7 separate regions of the Homo sapiens genome follow, and all the other regions are linked to region 7. The links are contacts of gene promoters, found by promoter capture Hi-C in blood cells and fetal thymus (Javierre and others, 2016). All regions are on one chromosome and are shown on one strand. Each heading gives the region's core, a stretch centred on a gene start or on the middle of the fragment in contact. The rest is flanking DNA. Distances are from core to core; before and after follow the strand shown. Region 1 has its middle 18 kb from the start of HNRNPA0. Region 2 overlaps KLHL3 (kelch like family member 3). Region 3 overlaps HNRNPA0 (heterogeneous nuclear ribonucleoprotein A0). Region 4 overlaps KLHL3 (kelch like family member 3). Region 5 has its middle 56 kb from the start of HNRNPA0. Region 6 has its middle 38 kb from the start of HNRNPA0. Region 7 holds the start of NME5 (NME/NM23 family member 5).

Evidence for each region. Contacts are between HindIII fragments. The CHiCAGO score rates a contact against its expected background, and 5 or more counts as called.
Region 1: a fragment that was not itself captured here is called in contact with the fragment with the promoter of NME5 in region 7 in 12 of 17 cell types (naive B cells, total B cells, total CD4 T cells and 9 more); the score reaches 14.4 in naive B cells.
Region 2: a fragment that was not itself captured here is called in contact with the fragment with the promoter of NME5 in region 7 in 5 of 17 cell types (naive B cells, erythroblasts, total B cells and 2 more); the score reaches 7.8 in naive B cells.
Region 3: a fragment that was not itself captured here is called in contact with the fragment with the promoter of NME5 in region 7 in 1 of 17 cell types (erythroblasts); the score reaches 6.1 in erythroblasts.
Region 4: a fragment that was not itself captured here is called in contact with the fragment with the promoter of NME5 in region 7 in 1 of 17 cell types (total CD4 T cells); the score reaches 5.0 in total CD4 T cells.
Region 5: a fragment that was not itself captured here is called in contact with the fragment with the promoter of NME5 in region 7 in 1 of 17 cell types (erythroblasts); the score reaches 5.8 in erythroblasts.
Region 6: a fragment that was not itself captured here is called in contact with the fragment with the promoter of NME5 in region 7 in 10 of 17 cell types (total B cells, naive B cells, activated CD4 T cells and 7 more); the score reaches 7.3 in total B cells.

What each region holds. Positions count from the first base shown.
Region 1 is chr5:137,770,734-137,773,449 of GRCh38, reverse strand. No RefSeq gene overlaps it. Among named protein-coding and RNA genes, the nearest start is that of HNRNPA0, 18 kb to the right of the region's middle. The HindIII fragment of the contact is 4,693 bases long and covers 1-2,716 here.
Region 2 is chr5:137,664,833-137,667,603 of GRCh38, reverse strand. The region is part of intron 6 of KLHL3 (kelch like family member 3); the gene reads left to right. Among named protein-coding and RNA genes, the nearest start is that of MIR874, 19 kb to the right of the region's middle. The HindIII fragment of the contact is 793 bases long and covers 1,125-1,917 here.
Region 3 is chr5:137,745,224-137,748,258 of GRCh38, reverse strand. HNRNPA0 (heterogeneous nuclear ribonucleoprotein A0) reads left to right here. Exons shown (of 1, transcript NM_006805.4): 1 at 1-2,608. Among named protein-coding and RNA genes, the nearest start is that of HNRNPA0, 7.6 kb to the left of the region's middle. The HindIII fragment of the contact is 2,517 bases long and covers 338-2,854 here.
Region 4 is chr5:137,727,013-137,729,974 of GRCh38, reverse strand. All of the region lies in intron 1 of KLHL3 (kelch like family member 3), which reads left to right. Among named protein-coding and RNA genes, the nearest start is that of KLHL3, 7.6 kb to the left of the region's middle. The HindIII fragment of the contact is 4,572 bases long and covers 1-2,962 here.
Region 5 is chr5:137,808,400-137,811,422 of GRCh38, reverse strand. It overlaps the pseudogene NPY6R. Among named protein-coding and RNA genes, the nearest start is that of HNRNPA0, 56 kb to the right of the region's middle. The HindIII fragment of the contact is 3,463 bases long and covers 1-3,023 here.
Region 6 is chr5:137,790,505-137,793,629 of GRCh38, reverse strand. No RefSeq gene overlaps it. Among named protein-coding and RNA genes, the nearest start is that of HNRNPA0, 38 kb to the right of the region's middle. The HindIII fragment of the contact is 2,125 bases long and covers 576-2,700 here.
Region 7 is chr5:138,138,148-138,141,047 of GRCh38, reverse strand. It overlaps NME5 (NME/NM23 family member 5), which reads left to right and starts at 1,620. Exons shown (of 6, transcript NM_003551.3): 1 at 1,620-1,677; 2 at 2,263-2,396. The coding sequence starts at 2,268. BRD8 (bromodomain containing 8) reads left to right here. Exons shown (of 27, transcript NM_139199.2): 26 at 166-343; 27 at 882-1,278. The coding sequence ends at 974. The HindIII fragment of the contact is 15,003 bases long and covers 1-2,900 here.

The sequences.
Region 1 (2,716 bases), core at 141-2,640, 370 kb after region 7:
TGTCTTCGGGCAGCAACCCCCCAACAGCAATGTGCCATATCTAGTGCCAATATCTTGATTTCTAAGTACCATTCTCCACTAAAAGGAAACAAGATTTCTTGAAATCGCTGATTCCAGGATAGGGCAGGAAAAGTCCAAGATGAGCCTAAAATATCTTGTCAGGCCAGAAAGTAAAACGTGCTCAAAGAATTATGGGGACATGTCAAAAGAACACAGAAGTCAGTTTGAATGAATTCCCAGTGGCCAAATCTGACATACTTTGGGTACCAAAGTAAATAATAGTAGTAGAAGATTACAATCCATGGAATAAAAACAAGAATTCATAAGTCCATGTGAATATAAATAAATGAATAAATAATTGGGGAGAAGAGATCTAGTAAGTGTAGATGTAATGCTTGAGTAGGAAAATCACCATTTATAAATGATCATAGATTTATAAATGATCATAGATTCAGCCAAGAATCATCATGAATATTAAAAATTAGTGGATGGAAGTTTGCTAAGGAAAGGGATATTATGTAGTTTCAAAATACCTCCACACAAATTTAGTACTTACAAATCGGAAGAAAAGCAACTTCAGAGTGGAAAATCTGGCAGACACTGCCTTAATTGAGTGATTAAAATTAACAGTAATGGGACAAAAATAAATCATTTACTACCTGATAGGTTGCCTTATCACTTCTGTGACGTTCCTGTCAAAATATGTAATCTTAGTCTAATTATGAGGAAATATTAGACAAATTCAAATTGAGGTACATTATGCAAAGTAACTAGTCTATAAGTCTGCAATCTTCAAAAGAGTCAGGAGTCAAAGAGTCAAAGTCTTCAAGAGAGTCAAAGTCTTCAAGAGAGTCAAAGTCTTCAAGAGAGTCAAAGTCAAGGAGACTTAAGAGGCATAACAACCAAAAGCAGAGTGTGATTCTGGACTAGATCCATTCACATTATTCGGACAATTGTCAAAACTTGAATGGGGATTGTGGGTTAGTTGGTAGTGATGGATCAATGTTAATTTCCTAATTGTGATGGTTATATTGTGGTTACATAGGAGAATGTCCTTGTTCACAGCAATTATACACTAAAGTCTTAGTGGTGGGTACTGGGGCATCATGTTGGCAATTTACTCTTTACTGTTTCAGGAAAAATGTTATTTGCATTATTATTGTTGCAACTCTATTGTAAGTTTGGAATTATTTCAAATTACAAAGAAAAAACAATTTTTAAATTAGTAAGCTAAAGGTTTTCATTAAAATATCTTATTAAATATTTTAAGTACATCTAAATATCTTAAATATAAATAATATTTGTTATCTTAAATATTAAATATCTTCCGTATTGAATTTTTTTTAGCAAGGCCCTTGCAGATAACACCACATTCTTTCCACTTTACACCTGTGTATTATATAAATTTTTTTTCTGTGTGCACCATGACATTAAAAAGGCTGTGGAACATTAATTTAGACAAAGGGCACCATATGTGCAAAGGCCTGGAGCTCAGAGAGCATGTCTTTTAGGAGAATTGCAATCAGTTAAGCATGTCTGGAAAGTGGAATTGGTGGTGGGGTGGTTGTCAAGGGAAAAGACATCTAGCAACCTCAGCTGGATAGTGGTGCCATTCACTGATCTAGGGGGTCACACTGATAATTCAGTTTTATGGCTCTAAAACTGATAGCACAACATTAGTGAGGGTGTACCCTAACTAGTAAAGCAACCATTTGTCTAGAAACTTTTCCCAAGATGCTTCCTGACCTCAGAGTTCAAACACAAATTGCCCTAAACTTGTGCCTCTAAGAGGGAGAACTCAGAAATGTGAAGAGTGATAGAAAAGGTGGCTGGCCTCTGTTGTGTCTATTATACTATCAAGTAATTTAGCAAAAAGGACACATTACAGTAGATACATGTGATAGGACAATTGTTTAATGCTCAATAGAATATGGCTTTAATTGTTGATAATAAAAATAATATATGTCCATTATAGAAAATGCATCAAAGTAAAAGAAGAAAATTTGCAACAACAGTCATCCATAAATCTACCACCTGGATAGAATCCCTGAACCATTATGGCATATTTTCTGACAGTGCTATATAATGTGTTTCTTTGTTATGAAGATTTTCAAACATACAAAAGTTAAAAGGTAAATACAATGAGTACCCATATGCCTTCCTCCTAGAGTCAATAATTATATATACTTTGCCATATTTGCCTTATCTTGTGTGTGTGTGTGTGTGCGCGCGTGTGTGTATGTGTATGGAGGTGTGTGTGTAGATTTTTCTGTTAATACCCTGTGTTGTTCAATGTTCTTTTTTAAATCTCTGCTGATTTTTTTTTAATTTTTATTTTTTATGGGTACATAGGTGTATATATTTGTGGGATACATGAGATATATTGATACAAGCATGCAATGGATAATAATCACCTCAGGGTAAATGGGGTGTCTGTCACCTCAAGCATTTATCCATTGTGTTAGAAACAATCCAATTACACTTTTTTAGTTATTTTAAAATGTATAATTAAATTATTACTGACTATAGTCACCCTGTTATGCTATCAAATACTAGCTTTTACTTATTCTAACTCTTTTTGTACCCATTAGCCATCTTATTTATTTTTTAGACAGAGTCTTGCTCTGTTTGTGCAGGCTGGAGTGCAGTGGTGCAATCTCGGCTCCAGACTTGCTTAACTGCTTGCAACCCCTGCCTCCCGGGTTGAAGCAATTCT
Region 2 (2,771 bases), core at 272-2,771, 470 kb after region 7:
CTTGGCTGCCTGTCTGTCCAGAGTGTTGGAGTGGAAGGTCTGGATTCATCTGGTATTCTCTGGCCAAGACCTGTGCTTACATCTGAAGTGTGGTGAGCTGGGAGCTATGGAATCTGATTTTCTCCAACTCCTTTCCACTTGACAGTCTTGTAGCATGCAAGAAATTGGTTCTAGGACATTAATCAGTGAGGAAATGGGGCTATTTCTTTGTTTAAAAAGTGAAACCCTAAGTGTACCTATGAGCAGCTGATTATTTCATCACAAAAAGTAGTAGCTAAGTAGATATCACCCTATCCTATGATTGAATCTATAGTCTCTGCTTAGATTTTATAGACCAGGGGTTGACAAACTTTTTCTAGGAAGGGCCAGATAGTAAATATTTTAGGCTTTATGTTGTCGTGGCTTCTCAACTCTGCTACTGTAATGTGAAAGCAGCCATAGACAATATGTAAACGATGAGTGTGGCTGCCTTCCAACATAATTTTATTTACCAAAACAGGTGGCAGGCTGGATTTGGCCTGTGGGCAGCAGTTTGCAACCCCCCTGCTATTAGACCTATTAGACATTTGAGAGTCAGCTAAGAATAATGGATTTAGAGCATAAGCACTGAAGTTGGTTTTGTATGTAACCAAGCAGAGCTGGCTCTGCTTCTTTTTAGTTCTGGGACTTGGGCAAGTCATTTAATAAGGCTTAAGAGTATTTAATCATTGGGTTATCTTGAGAATTTGGGGAGGCGATGTTTATGGAGAGTCCCTTGGTGGGAAGGGTTATTGGGAACCATTTTGGGTACATTGAAAGCTAAAGCAAGTTGGAAGTTTATTTGCTTGTTTATTTTTCAAGCATGAAGTCTGAATGAAAAAAATATGTGGCCTTCTCTAGCTGCTGAGAAGGTCACTGTTGTTGCCGAATGCTGTGGCTTTCATAGCTGAGTAGATAAACAGTGTGACTAAGTGGAACTAGTTACACAAGTGAAGCCAAAAATAAAGATAAGGTTAAATATCGACTTTGGTAGATTCAGCTTGCTTTTTTGTTTTTATAACAAAAATTAAGCTGGTTGATGGGGAAGAATGTGATCAATAAATGCTACCCGCTTAAGGACTTGTAGTTCATTCTTCAGCTAAGCTTTGCCAATCAGTTACCTTGTGTTGTGCTAGGCAGCATTGGGAGATGGCGTGCAGAGACAGAGCTGGTACACTTCTCACTCTGCATAGGCTCACAGTCTATAAAGGGAAGTAGAAAGAGGTGTGGCTAACCAACCACATACAAGGCAGAATGGGGTTGTGGCTGCCCATCACCTAACCTGGCAAAGGCAGACTATCTGCCTTTGACTCTGCCTTACCCACTAAGATTCCAACCCCTTGTTCCCCAGCCCTGCTCTCTGCTCCAGCCTGGGCAGCTTCCACACATCTCCTTCCATGCTTATTCTGAACTCATTTTCCATTCATTCACTTAAAAAATATTTGAGTTTGTGTTATGTGCCAGCAAATAAGACAAGGTCTCTCATGGATCTTAAGGGCTAGTGGAAGAAACATAGTCGTTCAAACAATGCTGTGAGGATGAGGGACATAGCTCGATAAGAGTTCCTAATAAAAAATGAACTAGACAGGGATTTCTATGGTGTATGTGCTTATGTTTGTACACATATAGGTTATTTGATATAGAAATAGGAGCAAACTATACATACATACTACTCCTTTCCTTTTCTGCTCCCTTCCCTTCCTTTCCCTTTCCCTTCCCCTTTCCCCTTCCCTTTCCTTTCCTTGCCAAATTCAAGTTATGTCCAGCCTGACTTAAGTATATAATTAGAAAACAGGGCCAAGTGTTTTAGGGGAAAAGCACATTAACATATTTGCACAAAAAAAATGTACTTAGGTTAAGAAAAATTGGAGTCCTTTTTTCCTCCTGGCAGATAAAGCTTTCATTTCAACTTTCTGCCATCCTATAAATTTTGTTGTAGTTTTTTTCCTTAGAATTTCTTTTCTTCTCTCTTACACTGCTTATTCTGAAAAATTAAAAACCTACTGTAGGTTTGAAAGAATGAACATTCATGTAGTCTTTACCTAAACTCACCATTAACATTTTGCTTCATTTACTTTATCTCTCTAGACTTAATCTTTCATTTTGCTTAATCATTTGACAGTAAATTGCAGACATTATGACACTTCACCCCTAAATATTTTAGCATGTATCTCTTAAGAACGAGGAAATTCTCTTTTCTAGCCATAAAACCAATTATCATACCAATGAAATTTAATATTGATCTAGGAATATTATCTAACATATAGTGGATAGTCATATTTTCTTACTAGTCCCCCAAAAGTCATTTATGGCTATTTCTTTTAGAGCCATAATCTAATTATGGTTTATGCACGGCATTTAGTTGCCTTGTCTATAAATCTCTCTAATCTAGAACTGTCTCCCTACCTTTTTTTGTCTTCCATAATATTAACAATTTTGAAAATCCAGGCCAGCCGTCCTATAGAATGTTGCAAACATAGAGTTGTCTGATCGTTTCCTCACCGTAAGATTCAGGTTATATATTAATATTTTAGGAAGAATTGTACTTAGGAGATACTGTGTCTTTTCAATTAAATCACAATCAGGAATATAAGTTTGTCCTCTTATGGGTGGTGGTAAATTTGGTCCCTTGTTTAAGGTGTTGTCTATCAGATCTCTCTATTTGAGGATATTTTCCCTCCATGTAAATAGTATGTAATCTGTTGGGTGATTCTTTGAGAATTGTGACTCTTTCCCCATCCAACAACTTTATT
Region 3 (3,035 bases), core at 347-2,846, 390 kb after region 7:
AGGAAGAAGGATCAAGAGAGGCATTGTGGAGCATATAACATTTAACCTTAAAAGATAGGTCTTATAGAGAAGGTGGGAGGAGAAAGAGGGCATTTTAGGTGGAGGACAGATAGGCAGAAACATGGAGCGTATTTGGAGAAGTATGCATATTGGATGCCAAACACTAGGTACATTTACAAATGTTCTCATTGCATCATTCAGTAACCTTCACAGATAAGGTTGCTAAATCTCATGCCAGAAAAGTAACTCCCAAGGACCCCCAGCTGGTGACATGGTAGAACTGAGAGTTGAATCCAAGTTTGACCAATTCTAGTTGTTTCGCTCCTTCTACTAAGCTTCATTGACTTCCAGCTAACAAATGTCTAATTTGTACTAAGATAAAAGAGAGTTGTGAGAAATAAATTGAGAAAATGAAGTTGGAACCAGGTTACTGAGGTCTTTGAGTAGTAGGCTAAGGAGTTTGGACTTAGGGTAGGCAGTAAAAGTCATTAAAGGTTTTTGAGCAACAATAATGGTAGTGAAACTAATTCACAAAGATTAGTCCAGTAGCACTGAGTAACATAAATGGCAGTGGGGGATGTTTCAAAGTGGCAAGTTTGCTAAGACAACTGATGTTAACCAGGTAAGAGAATGAGAGCATGAACAAAGAGCAATGGAAATAGACTGACAAAGAAGTTGAGGTAAGTTGTGAAAGCATAATTGACAAATATTTGGATATATGAAGAATGAGGAAGAGAGAGTAGATTAATCAAAATTACTGTGTGAGAGGATGGTGATGCCACTGGTAATAGGAAGAGAAGATTTAGAGGGAAGATTTGGACATAGTTGAAGATGCTGGTAGCACATTGAAGCATTGTGTCTTGCGCATATAGCTTTACAAAATGGCCATTGTGCTGGATATTCTTTTTGCCCTTCCTGATCTATTTTCCATCTTTATCTCTCTTGTTCTGTGTTCCTGGGAGGCTGACAAATAAAGAACTGCATACTCTCTTTTCTGGCTTTATTCATGGTGGGTTTGGACAGTGATAGAAAAGTGAGGCTGAAATATTTGCTCCTTCTCTTTCTCATATACTTAGCAAGAGATTGTGAGTGGCCACAGCTCTGCTCCAGTGGCCCTCTTATAGCTCTAGGTCTTTTCTGGCTTCTCGTAACTGTCTCCTATTGCTAGATTCTCTAGTCCCAAGAAGGTTCAAACCTTGTTGATTTGCCTTAACTGTGCCCATACCCTTGTAAATAGTTCCTTTTATTAAAACTCTTCAATAACTGAATATACTGTGGTCATCTCTTCAGTGAAATTAAAAAAAAAAACTTCTTTCACATTTTCTTATGACTTGATCTTCCCACACCACCAAACGTGAAGATCTAGCTATTTGCACTAGGTTACTATCCCTAAATTCAGTGCCTCCCTGTTTCTTAGTATGTCAAGTTAAAATTTGTTACTCTTCTGCTGGGTGATTGTGCTGGAAATACAGAAGAAAAAGACAAAAATCCCTGCCCTCAAAGAGCTTATATTTTACTGGGGAGAGACAGGCAATAAGACATAATCAATTATATGGTATGTTAGAAGATGAGAAGTATAGAAAAAATTAGGGTGAGGAATGGCGATTGTTGCAAGGGATGTTTGTGAGGATAGCATACTTTAAAATAGGTGGTATGGGTAGGTCTCTCAGAAAGTGACATTTGAGCAAAGACTTGAAGGAAATGTGGGAGTGAGCAATATAGGTATGGGAAGAGCATTCTAGGTAGAGGATTAGGAAGAGCAAAAGCCCTGAAGCAGGACTGTGTCTGGCCTCTGAAGAAATGCAAATTGTTCAGGGTTGTTGGACCTGAAGGAAGAGGAGGAAAGGAATAATGAGGCCAGAGGGGCCAGATCATGTAGGGATTTGTAGGTTGTTGTAAGGATTTTGGTTTTCACTAAATGAATGGTGAACCATTTCAGTTTTGAGCAGAGGAGTTCCATGATCTGATTTGAATTTTAAAAGATGTGTTTCCCAAAATTCCTATTCCTTTCATACAGCTGCTTTCAATGAAGGTTTATAAGGAAAGCAATCAGAACTACTTGGATAAGGTATAAGTGATCCACAATCTTTTCAACTCTACCATAGGTATCTACATATATATGTTGAGAGATGCTGCTTTTTGGCCAAAATGAATCTTGAATTGGGGGTGTGCAGAAAAAGTTATATCTGGCCTGAGGCTGGTATCTTTTAGAGTGGCCTACTTGCATGGTTGGCCCTTATCTGAACACGTGGATTTAGGGGTATTCTCACTGTTCACTAATAAAGGTGGTTCACTGTACCTAGACTGTTCAAACAAGATGATTTATGCTAAACACCTGCTTTCCTTCTGGGAGTATGGAATTTTGGTACATGCCAGGTAAAGGATGTCTATATGACCAAACTCCCAATGAAAACCTTGCATACTGAGTCCCTAGGCAGAAACATCCCTCGTATAAAAATGTGCTCTGTGTGAATCTTCATGGGAGGGAGAGATCCTAAAGAAGCCTGCACATGGATTCCTCCAGATTCTGCTTATGTCTTTTTCCTGTATGATCCAACTGTGTACACTTACTGTGTCACTGTAATAAACTTTAGCCATGAGTACGATACTTAGCAGTGCTGAGTTTTGTGAACCCTTCTATCAAATCTCAATATGGGCTTGGTCCGGGGGATCCCTGACACAGGCAGATTTTTTTTTTTTTTTTCAAAGAGTCACCAAGTTAATTGGAAAACATCAGGTTATGGATAGAAGGAGCAGTTGGGCAACCTGTCACAGAAGTCAGCCAGCTCTGTCTAGTGGAGAGCTCTTCTGAGCTGTTTCTGCTTTGTTAATTCCTTTTCTTTCTCCAAAAGCTTCCCTCCATTTGGTTTTGTCACACTTTATACATTTGTAACAAACTGCTGACCGGAATTTGTCCATCAGGTTATGAAAAATGGCAAATGAGGAGAGTAAAATTATGGATTTATTTATTAAGAACTATTAAAGTATTCATATGCTCTGGGACACCATTACTAGGAATTTAACCTTAACAGAAC
Region 4 (2,962 bases), core at 265-2,764, 410 kb after region 7:
AGCCTAATTCTATGAACTGAGGTGGCACTGCTGAAAGAGGATGAAGAGTATGGGGCTCTCTGGTAACCTGTGTGTAAATGGTACTTTGTGATAGCAGGACTGCACCACCAAGTCCTGAATCCTGCTGGCTGGACATCTTCAAGAGTCAGGTTCTTCATTAATCCAGAAGTAGAAATCTAAGTTTGATCATTTTGGTCTTGAACTTTAGGATTGGGATACTTACTAGATCTGCAGTTTGACCAGAGTGCCAGGGGCTCAGAAATCCTATCTATATAGGGTCCCATTGCTGTCCAGAGTTGGAGAAGCAGAGTCATGCCAATGACCTCATGAGAACCTAAAATACAATAGTCAACATGTCATCAGTTTATTGATTTGCAGTAAAATATTACTGGCAAGATATTCCTGAGGGCCTGCAACCACATTCTACCTCTCTGAAGGACAACCACGGGGGAGGCCAAACTGGTCAAAAGGCTGCAGAGTAAACTAGGGACTGAGTTATGGCATTGGAGTATTTACAGACTTCAAACTCCACCATGAGGATCTGACCTGAGGCTGAACCAGCTGACGATATCTGATGATTAAATCACTTTCCTAGACAGAGTGTGATGGGTTGGACCGAGGGCTTTCTTCTCTGTCTGATTCTTAGTTTTTGGTTATTCCTTTCTAAATGACACTTTCTTTGTTGAGAGTTTTTAATGCATTCAGCACAGCTTTGCCCTGGCTCACAGTTGTTTTGCCTTCATTGAGTGGTTTTGCCTCTTTATTCCATCTCATCTCTAGCTTGAACATAATGTGCTTGGGCCTCTTGTATGTGGCCAGTATCAGCTCATGACTTCTGAATTTTATTTGCATCTCTTGGAGACCTTTAGAGGTGAAACAGATCATAACCTTTAACAGCATTTCTCAGACTCCACTTTCCTTCCCTCTACATTCTCGCACACCCAAGATGTTCTGGAACTCCTCATTTGTTTTTTCTTTTCTTTTTTTTTTTTTTAACTTTTATTTTAGGTTCAGGGGTACACGTGCTGGTTTGTTATATAGGTAAACTTGTGTCACAGAGGTTTGTTGTACAGATTAGTACCTGTCATCACCCAGGTAGCCAATAGTTATTTTTTCTGCTCCTCTTCCTCCACCCACCCTCCATCCTCAAGTAGGCCCTAGTGTCTGTTGTTCCCTTCTTTGTGTCCGTGAGTTCTCATCACTTGGAGCTCCTCATTTGTTGGATTCCCCCAAACATTGCTGCACAATCAGCCTGCTTGGAGACTCTTCTATCCCCTGCCTTTCTAGCATGTTTTTTAGTATCCTTTCCTTTCCATTCACTGCCTCCATTTTCCTCAGCAATAGAAAGAGTCTAAGAACTGACACAGTAAGCAGTAACCTATCTCACTTTCTTCCCTCTTCTCTAGTTGTTGCTGGCTTTCTCTCACTCCCATCCTCCTGATTCTGTGTCATCAATGCAGGGGACTGGGCTGCCTAAGAAAGTACTCCTCTCTGAACGTGAGGTGGAGGGGTCATGGAGAGAAAGTTGAGGGGGACAAAGCCATCAGTATTTTAATGAAGGGGAGTGAGGAAAGCTACAGTGGTCAGTAGTTAAACCTAATTTACTTATCTACCTATTAATTTACTCAGTAATCATTCATTGAGCACCTGTCATGTGACAGAAGCTAAGAATTCAGAGGCAACTAAGATAACTGTCTTGGTTCTCATGGAGAGCTCACAATCTAGAGGGGGCAGCAGTGTGCTGGAGTCAGCACTCACCCACTTGGAAAAGCTGTTTGTTAAATTTTCAGGAATTTTCGGAGCCAGTTATTAAATATAGCCATTATTAACAAATTATGTAACTTATAAATTATATTAAAAATGAATGTAATAAATACCCCAAACTCATCACTTTCTAATTATTTTTTACTGTAATCTTCTAGGGCTTTGAGGTTATGTCTATTGTGTCTTGGTGTAGAAATACTATACAGTGATATGATGGTGTGCTGTTGCACATCTCTTCCCAAATCTCATGTTCGGTGGCATCATGTTGGTAGCTTAAAATCTGCCATGGTGGGAGTATTTACAGTCTGGAAATTGGCAAATGTTACAAATCAGGGCTCCTTTCCTCCCAATCAACTGTTAAACATTTACCAGCACACACTGTGTGGGGCAGACAGATAAGTAAGAGGTAATTAGAATACAATACAGAAGGAAGCACAGTACTGTGGGAATACAGAACTGGGGAAACTAACCTAGTTTCCCACTAGATTTTAACTAATCTAGTGAGTAGTGGAGAATGAGAGGGAAGGCTTCAGGGAAGAGGCTTGAAGGCTGGTAGGAACTAGCTAGACACGGGAGAATGAGTGGGGAATAAGATAGAACAGTTTTCTAGTGAGACAAAACTTCACAAGGCAGAGAGCCTAGTGTATTTTGGCTATTGCAAGTATTTTAGTATTACGGTAATAAGAAGTCTTCAGGGCAACGATGGGATTAAGGGCCAGGCTAGGTCCCTGAGATTTATTCTGAATGCAGTGAGGAATCAGTGAGGCTTCATGTAGAACATGCCTGGAACACATTGACATTTTGGAAAAGTCCCTCTGGAGTCTGGGAGGAGGTTATTATAATAATCCTGGCAAGAGACAATGATGACCTGGAATGGGGTTGTAATGGTAGCGAAAGTGAGAAGGAAATGGGGTGCAGGGATATTAATGGACATAGGATTGATTCGATTTATGGCTGTATGTGAGGAGTGAGAGAGAGAGAGAGGGAGGAAGATATCAAGGATAACACCCCAGTTTTTGGCTTGGATAGGTGATTGGGTGGTTGGTTATGCCTCTGAGATAGAGAATACAGAAAGAGTAGCAGGCTTAAGGGAGGGTGGGGAACATAAATTTTGAATAAGTATGAATTACCTGTGTAAAATCTAATTAGGGGAGTCAAATAAGACATTGGATATGTGGATCTGTAATTTAGAGGATAG
Region 5 (3,023 bases), core at 266-2,765, 330 kb after region 7:
TATCACTTTCCAACATGAGATTTGGAGGAGACACACATCTAAACCACATCAAATTGTTTGATCAGAATCATTTTAGTAATGACAACTAGCATCATATTTCTTTTCTTTTCTTTTTGTTTTTGAGATGGAATCTCTCTCTGTTGCCCAGGCTGGAGTTCAGTGGCATGATCTCCACTCACTGCAACCTCTGCCTCCTCAGTTCAAGAGATTCTTCTGCCTCAGCCTCCTGAGTAGTTGGGATTACAGGTGCTCACCACCATACCTGGCTAATTTTTGTATTTTTAGTAGAGATGGGGTTTCACCATTTTGGCCAGGCTGGTCTCGAACTCCTGACCTCAAGGGATCTGCCCACCTTGGCCTCCCAAAGTGCTGGGATTACAGGCGTGAGCCACCATGCCTGGCCTAGAATCGGTATTTCTTTACCAAGTAAGTAAAGTGACATTTACAGCTACTGCCATGAGATGGTTAGATTTTGTTTCGTTTGTGTGTTCTGCAGTGCTTTTGTTGTTCATTTATTCCAAAATGATAAAACAGAGAATAGAAACCCTAAAGAGAATGAATAAAGAGAGAATAAGGGAAGGAGGGAAAGAGGAAGAGAGAAAGAGATTTTCAGGAGAGGAAAATGTGAAAGCTAATGTGCAAGAAAAAGCACAATAGAAAAATCACAGATGTTTCCAGAAACATTACTTTTTATTCAAAAGAAAATATAGTTACTTTTAAAATTTTTTTTTGAGACAGGGTCTCACTCTTTCATCCAGGTTGGAGTGCAGTGGTGTGATCATGACTCACTTGATCTCCCAGGCTCAGGTGATCCTTCCTCTCATCTAAGTAGCTGGGACTGCAGGTATGCATGACCACACCTGGCTAATTTTTTGTATTTTTAGTAGAGATGGAGTCTCACTGTGTTGCTCAGGCTGGTCTTCAACTCCTGGGCAAAAGTGATCCTCCACCTTGGCCTCCCAAAGGGCTGGGATTACAGGTGTAAGTTGCTGAGTCCAGCCTACAGTTACATTTTTAACATACAAATAAGCTGCAGTTCAACTTTGATAGATATAGGGGAGGTTTGTTCTAAGAAGTGGTAAAGCTGGTCACAATTTAATAAAAGTGACTTCAGTTAATAGCAATTTGAACAGTAGCTTAGTGTCTTTTGAGAACAGTCTAGTTGATTCCCCTGTGTAAGCAACTCTGTGGGGATGAGGGCTCTTTTAAAAATGTTTAAGCCACAAGATATATGAGAAGGTTTTAAAAATCTGGCGCTAATTATAAAAATGCTACTGACAAAGTCTCTGAGATCCAGTAATAGAGTCATAATGACCTCTTTTTAATATACATAAAGAATTAGGGATTAAAAGCCACTTTGTGAGGAAAGCTGTATCTACATTGGCCATTAATAAGTTTGTTAGAGCAATTTCTAGCATAATTGCTATGCTAAAGAATTTGTGGCCAGTTCTAATAGCATTGTTAGTGAATAAAATGTACTGTTATCATAAACTGGAGATATGATTCAAGCATGGGAATTAATTGTAATTACAACACTTCGTTTAAATGTTAAGTTAAAACCAGCCCTTCAACTTTAGTCCAAACTTAGTTTGTTAATTAATTAATGAATTTTAAGGGGGGATTTTCTGACTTGGCTAATTAATTGAATAGTTATATGATTGAAAGTTACAGTTTTCATATCTGAGAATAGACTTGCTTCAGTGCTAAGGAGGTATAGCAGTGTTTTTACTAGGCATATCATTAGTCATAACTTTTGTAGATATTCCATTGAATAAAAGTATCTGTGAACATTGTTCCCCAGCCATCACTGCTGTTTGCCTCTCTCTCTGCTTTCTCATTCTCATTCTTTGCCACAAATGATGGCGGGCAGGTTGTTTGAATTATTAGAGTTATTTTCTTAAGAGAAAAGGGGTGGTATGTGTGTTCGTGTATGTTGGAGGGTGTGTTGGATAGACATATGAGACAGGCAGTCTTAGCCTAAAGGAAAAGTGGGTATAAAGTTGCTATTTTTGGTTCTGGTTTCTTCTTTCTGCATCTTGCCCTATTCCCACCATTACCTGTCCAGCTCCCATTCAAGAAGAGCTTCAGCATTATCAATTTTCATATACCTGTTGTTATACGAGCCAATCTTAAAGACCTCTTGGAGTCTGTGTGCATAGTGGAGATGGCAATATTTTCACATCTTTCCTGAGGTGTGAAGCACCAGCAGTGGTGAATAAGCACTACCAGGTCCTTTTGGAAATTTTTGTTGAGAAAGCCATAAAAGAGAGGGTTTATACATGTGGAAACCATAGCAACCAAGTGGCAAACTACAAATACCAGGTCGTGGTGGCAGCTCATCAGCACCTCATGATACCAGTCAAAGATGACATTGAAGATATTCGGGGCAGCCAGCAGGCTCCAAAGGTCACCACGATGGAAATCAACATTGTGTTGATCCTCTTGTTCTCATTGAGCCGGCCCTCATTTTCCTTCTTCTTATCTACCTTTGCATTTCTCCTGCGGAGGCAGATAACAATCTTCAAGTAGCAGATGAGGATGAAGCCTAGAGGAACAAAATACTGCAGCAGAAAAAGGGAGGTGGTGAAGAGCAGCCGGTCCTTTTTGGAGGGCCAGTTCTCCACACAGGCCACCTGGTGGGTGTAGAGGTCAGTGGGGAGAGAGAGGTTGCGGAAGGGCTCATCAGTGAGGTGGTAGGACAGGAAGAAGGGAATAGACAGCAGAAGGGAAAACAGCCAAATCAGTGTGATGCCCCAGTAGGCATGAGTCACACTGGGCTTCCAGCCACGGGGGTTCACAATTAGCTGATATCTTTCGACAGCAGTGAATACAAGTGAGAATATGGACACAGAGATTGAGACACTCTGCACATAGGATGTGAGTCTGCACATGGTATCCCCAAATATCCAGTGGTCCATCAGAGTGTAGATGATAGTAAAATGGATGCACATGACACACACCAAGGTATCAGAGAGGGAGAGATTGGCAATCAGTATGCTGGTGAAATTCTGAGCTTTTCTCTG
Region 6 (3,125 bases), core at 389-2,888, 350 kb after region 7:
AAAAAAAAAAAAAAAAAAAATCATGCTTTTATACATATTTTAAAATTTTCATCAAGGCACATGAATTAAACATTTTATTTAACAGATTGTTTTATAACTTTTTCATTTTTAGAGATATACTATGGGCTTTCATTTATACTCTGGCTGTGGACCTTGCAAATATTAGGCCTGGATTTGCTTACAAGTATCTTATTTGTTTGCTTTAGAGTTGAATTATTTTAAAGTAAGTGATGTTTTAAAAATTTTAGATGTAAGTACTATTGTTTAACAAAAAGTTGGGAAATACCATGAGGGGAAAAATAATATTGTCACTGTAATACCTGAATTTTAGCATTTTAAAGGATTATCTGCTTTAAAATGTGTCTTAAGTTCATCCTTTTTCAAACTCCATTGCCATTCTAGTCATCCTAGTTTAAGCCACCATCATTTCTTACCTGGACTAAAGCAATGGTGTAGTTACTTGTCTCTCCACGTTTTCTTTTACCTCCTTCCAATCATTTCTCCACACTGCGTCAGAGTAGATTTTGAAAAAAAAAAATAAATGAGATCATGTTGCTTTTTCTTCACCTAAAGCTTGTTGACAGTATCTAATTGCAGTTGTGGTAAAATCCAAATTATCTACTATTCCTTATGAAGTCTTATATGATATCTGCCTCTCCAGTTTTCTGTCATATCTCTCCCCTTCCCCACATCTATTAAGTCCTTCCCAATGTTAGTTTTAAGGAGAAGTTTTAATAGAAGACAGGAAGAACTCTGTAGCTTGATTGTTAAATGGCAGCTAAAATAAATACTTTATTTTTGACAGTGCTTACTTTTATATCTATGTTATTATAGGACCCCACCTTCTCTTAACGCTCTTTGATGATGGCTGGTTAAGTTTAAAGGGGTAAGGTAGAGGTAGGGGTGGGAATTGGCAACATAAATTAGAAGATATTTCAAAAATGCTACTGCTTTTATCATAAAAATCCATTTTTTTTGGTAGAACATAGTTTAACAAGTTTCCCACTGATGGACATAGATTGTTTCTAGTTCTCCAGTCCCATTGTAAATACCACATTATAAACAATGACTTTTGTGGTTAAATATTAGCCGACACTCATTTCTAGGAAGTAACAGTCAGGGGTACACTGTTAAATATTAGCCCACACTCATTTCTTAAGGAAGTAACAGTCTGGGGTGTACTGATGTTTGAGCATGCCTGACACATCTTCATATCCAGACCTGATCAGTATGCTATGATGCCATGGCAGACAAATAAGTCAAAGCATAAAAACCATTGAAATAACTTTTGCTAGGATTTCATTTGGAATGTTGAGGTCAGTTGATTGTATCAAGTTCCTTCATCCCTGTCATCTTTGGCTGTTCCTCAAAATGTAAGCCCATTCAGGCACTGTTCCCCTCCAGTACCCTCTTGCCCATTTTGTTCAGAGCATCACATGGTCCTTCTCTGAGGACCCTGATTCCTTTGCTGACTTAACTGAAAATGTACCTTCTCTCACAGTCCAGGCCTCACAGGACTGAATATAGTAGTCCTCCCTTATCATTGAGGGATACGTTCCAAGATCCCCAGTGGATGCCTGAAATTGTGGATAGTGCTGAAGCCTGTGTACACAGTGTTTTTTTTCTGGACCATAATGGATGGGTTGCATATGCAGCATGGATATACTGGACAAAGCGGTGATTCATACCCTAGGCGGGACAGAGCACGATGGTGAGAAATTTCATTATGCTACTTGGAATGACAATTTAAAACTTACAAATGGTATATTTCTTAGATTTTCTGTTTAACATTTTTGTACCATGGCTGATCCCAGGTAACTGAAATCATGGAAAGCAAAACCCCAGAGCGAGGGACTTCTGTATATCTATTCAGTTGAGCCTCATTCAAGGATTCTGTATTTACAAATTCACCTACTCACTAAAATTTATTTGTAACTCCAAAATCAGTACTCAGGACTTGCATGGTCATTTGTGGACATGTGCAGAGTGGTTCAAAATTTAAGTCACCTGATGACTCGTTCCCAATTGAGGCTGAACAAGGCAACATTGTCTTCTTACTTCAGTTCTCACACTATAAACAATTGTCTTTTTGTGGTTGATTTAGTGCTTTTTTTTTTTAACCTGTTTGTGCTTTTTGTTGGTGATTTCACTGTTTAAATGGCCCCCAAGTGTAGTACTGAAGTGCTTTCTAGTGTTCTTAAATGGAAGAAGGCTGTGATGTATCTTATTGAGAAAACATATGTGTTAGATAAACTTTGTTCAATCATGAGTTATAGTGCTGTTGCCATGAGTATATTAAATAAAATATCATTAAGCAGAAACACTTATAAAACAAGTTATGTATTGATTGGTTGATGAACATGTGACCAGAGGCTTACCAGGAACCTAGCCCTATATTTCCCCTAGGATCAGAGCTTCAGTATTTGCTAGTGCAGTGTTCATGACAGTTTTATAGAGACAACTACTGTAAATGACAATAATTGTCTTTATTTCTGGCTTTCTCTTGCCATTTTGATGACTTCTTTTCTACTTTGTGGAATTTCATTCCATTTGGGTGTGCACCTCTAACCTTTTACTTCAGTGACATTTTGTGACTCAGTTCATTATCTTCAACAAACATTAATGTAGTGCTTTCTGCTTCTTAGGAAATTCTTTATCCTGAGATCATGAGATTTTCTCTTATATAATCCTCTAAAAGCTTTCAGTTTTTATTCTTACATTTAGGTTTATAATCTATTTGAAGTTGACTTTTTGGTTTAGTACCAGCTAGAAATATAACTTCATTTCATTCTCACAGATATTTGATTGTCCTACTACCATTTATCAAAAAGACAGTCCTTGCCCCTACTACTTCACCATGCCATCTCTGTCATTTATCAAGCATCTGTGTATGTGCAGTGGACTGAATGTTTGTATTCCCTCAAAACTCCTGTGTTGAAACCCTATTCCCAGGTGATGGTATTTGGAGACGTGGCCTTTGGAAAGTAATTAGGTCATGGGCGTGAAGCCCTCATCAATGAATGGGATTAGTGCCCTTGTAAGAAGAGGCCAAGGCTGGGCATGGTGGCTCATGCCTGTATAATCTTAGTGCTTTGGGAGGTTGAGGTGGGAGGATCACTTGGCTC
Region 7 (2,900 bases), core at 371-2,870:
ACAGGCAAATATTAACTGCTGTTGCTATTTTATTATCTGATGAGGGTTGTTATCTTTGCTACTGTTTTCATTAAGAACTGGTTAGTTCTTCAAGAGAACGTGTTAGGTTATCATATGTTCCACATGAAGGTTTGATTTTCTTTGTTTTTTCTTGGCCACCTGCAGACCCATGGACTTAACTAGCCTGAAGAGAAATCTCTCTAAGGGTCGGATTCGCACCATGGCCCAATTCCTGCGAGACCTGATGCTGATGTTCCAAAATGCTGTAATGTACAATGACTCTGATCATCATGTATACCATATGGCTGTGGAGATGCGGCAAGAAGTCCTGGAGCAGATTCAGGTACTGTATGCAGATACCTGTAGCCTCTGGAATCTTGATTTCAGAACGCCTATGAGAATAAAGGTGATTTCGAGGTGACTGTGTTCTCAGAGTTTATTTTTAAAGGTGATTAAGGCCCTGAAGGATTGATAATGTGCCTGCTGGTTTGGAAAACCCTGAGCCTCAGTAAGTCCAGCTCTGATAGTGAAGTAGTCTAGGAATGCAGGCAGCAGTGAAGAGCTCTCAAGAGAGCTGAGGATAGACAAGTAATGGGAATTCCCGCTTCCAGAGCCTCAAGTCAAGGGCTAAACTCCAAAGAGGCTGGAGTCACTGTGTATTTTTTGGTTGCTTCATCTGTTGTTATTAATGTACGTTCACACTTTCCCATCTTTAGGGGATAAGATATAGTAGCTAGAAGACATTTGTGGGTTTCTTTTCTGGGTAGCATCATACTTTAAAGAAAAAAGTATAGTTGAGTCTATTTGCCAAAAAAATAAACTTGCAATACTTTAGTGTTTAAGGTTCATAATAGCTTGCTATGTGTTCCTTAACCCTTTAGGTACTGAATATCTGGTTAGACAAAAGAAAAGGCTCAAGTAGTCTGGAAGGAGAACCAGCTAACCCAGTGGATGATGGAAAACCTGTTTTCTAACCTGGAGCTGCTATCCTGACTTTTTCTAGAGTTTGAATCTCTCCCGGAACTCTGACCTAGAGAGGATCCTGGTACTTCTTTGCCATGTCCTCATTTTCTTTTCCAACAAGAATAATACCTTAACTCACAACCAACGAGTCAAAGATGCATGTGGACATAATATAAAGAAAAAAAGGGGAAGCTGAGGTTTGGATTTATGCCATAAATGTTGCCCACATCTTTGTTCCATCGGCTTGATTTAAAGACAATTCCATTAGATCTTTTCTAAGCCTTTTACTCTATAAATAAATGTATTTACACAATAGGAATATTGCTTTTTAATGACTAGATAAGCTGGGCATAGAGGGCACAGCATCATCTGGTGAAACGAAGGTATCTGACACGGGTCATTTACATATACCGCCTGGAAAGGAATGGTTGGGGGAGGGGTTCTTATCATTTATAGAGTAGGGATAATTGAAGCATCCTTCAAACGGGAAGAAGGATGAAATAAGATAAATTATGAGTAAAATGTCAGAAAACATCTAGTGCTCTAAGATTCACAAGGAGAATAAAAGTGACTGGCTGGCTCCCTTTGGTTAAAACGAACTGGCCAGAAGCTGCAAGGTTCCTTGCTGGGATTGGCTCTCTGCAGCCACCGTCCCCACGCTGGGGCTTCAGGTCTCCTAGCAACAAGTTGTACCATATGAGGACGGCCGCTGAGGTGAGTACTTAGAGAGGGTCAAATTCAGAATTTGCAGGTGCAACCCGGAAAGTCCCCGCGGACCTAGAGGCCCTGCTTTTCAATTAGCCTGACCCTATGCACAGAGAGGTCCCTGCGGGACAGGGTCGCTTCACAGAGGCAGCTGGCCGAGGCCGCTCACCCGCCGCTGTAATGGTGTGTGGTTGCCCACCAGCCACCGTCCCCTCGAGCCCCCACCACCCGCTCTACCGCCCCCTCGAGCCCCCACCACCCGCCCCACCGCCCTCTGCTGCCTGGGGCTGTTGCTGGTTCCAGGCCTTCGGGTCGCCCCTTGGCCTCTGGTTATGTGAGCCCATAGTCCTTCCTGCCTTGGTGACATCGTATACGAAAAGCCGGGGCTCGATTTGGACATAGTAGGAATCCTATTATTGAGACCCTGTATATAGAAAAACATGGCAGTTTCTACCTTCATCAGTTAATAAAATCAAGTACCTACTATTGCTATTCTTAATCATAATTACATTGAATTTGCGATGGGGGTGGGGGGAAATGCATGTCATTGCAGTTGATACCTGTTAAGAAACTCTTAATTTGTGCCCTGAAAAGCCATAATGGAGATATCAATGCCTCCACCTCAGATATATGTAGAAAAAACTCTGGCCATTATCAAACCAGATATTGTTGACAAAGAGGAGGAGATACAAGATATTATTCTTAGATCCGGATTCACCATTGTTCAGGTAACTTCTGGGTATGATGATTCATGCTTTTTTCCTCTCTGCCCTTAAAAAAAAAATGCTTATGTAAATGTGCCTACCCATTTAAACCCTTAGTGTTCAGCATTAAATTTAAGTTTATTCTTCTAAGTATAAAAGTTATATGTGATAGTTTTTAAAAGGATGTAAAATGAGAAATAAAATGGACTTTTCCTTCACCTGTCCTCTTTTACCCCAAGTCCCAGGCTCCAGAGAGAGGCAACCACTTAACACTTTCTGTTCTTCCAGGAGTTTTCTATGCATTTATAAACATTTTCCCCCCATAAAACAGAACAGTCCCTTTCCCTTGACCCCTTTACAGAGTCCCTCAGATAGGATTCCAGATCATTGCATCTGAATTGATCTCACTCTTCCTAATTTCTGTGTAATATTTCCCTGTGTATTAGAACTACAATTTATTTACTTGATCTTCTATTGATGGAATTTTAGGCTATTGGTACTTTTTTCAGTTATGGCATAACATTTAAT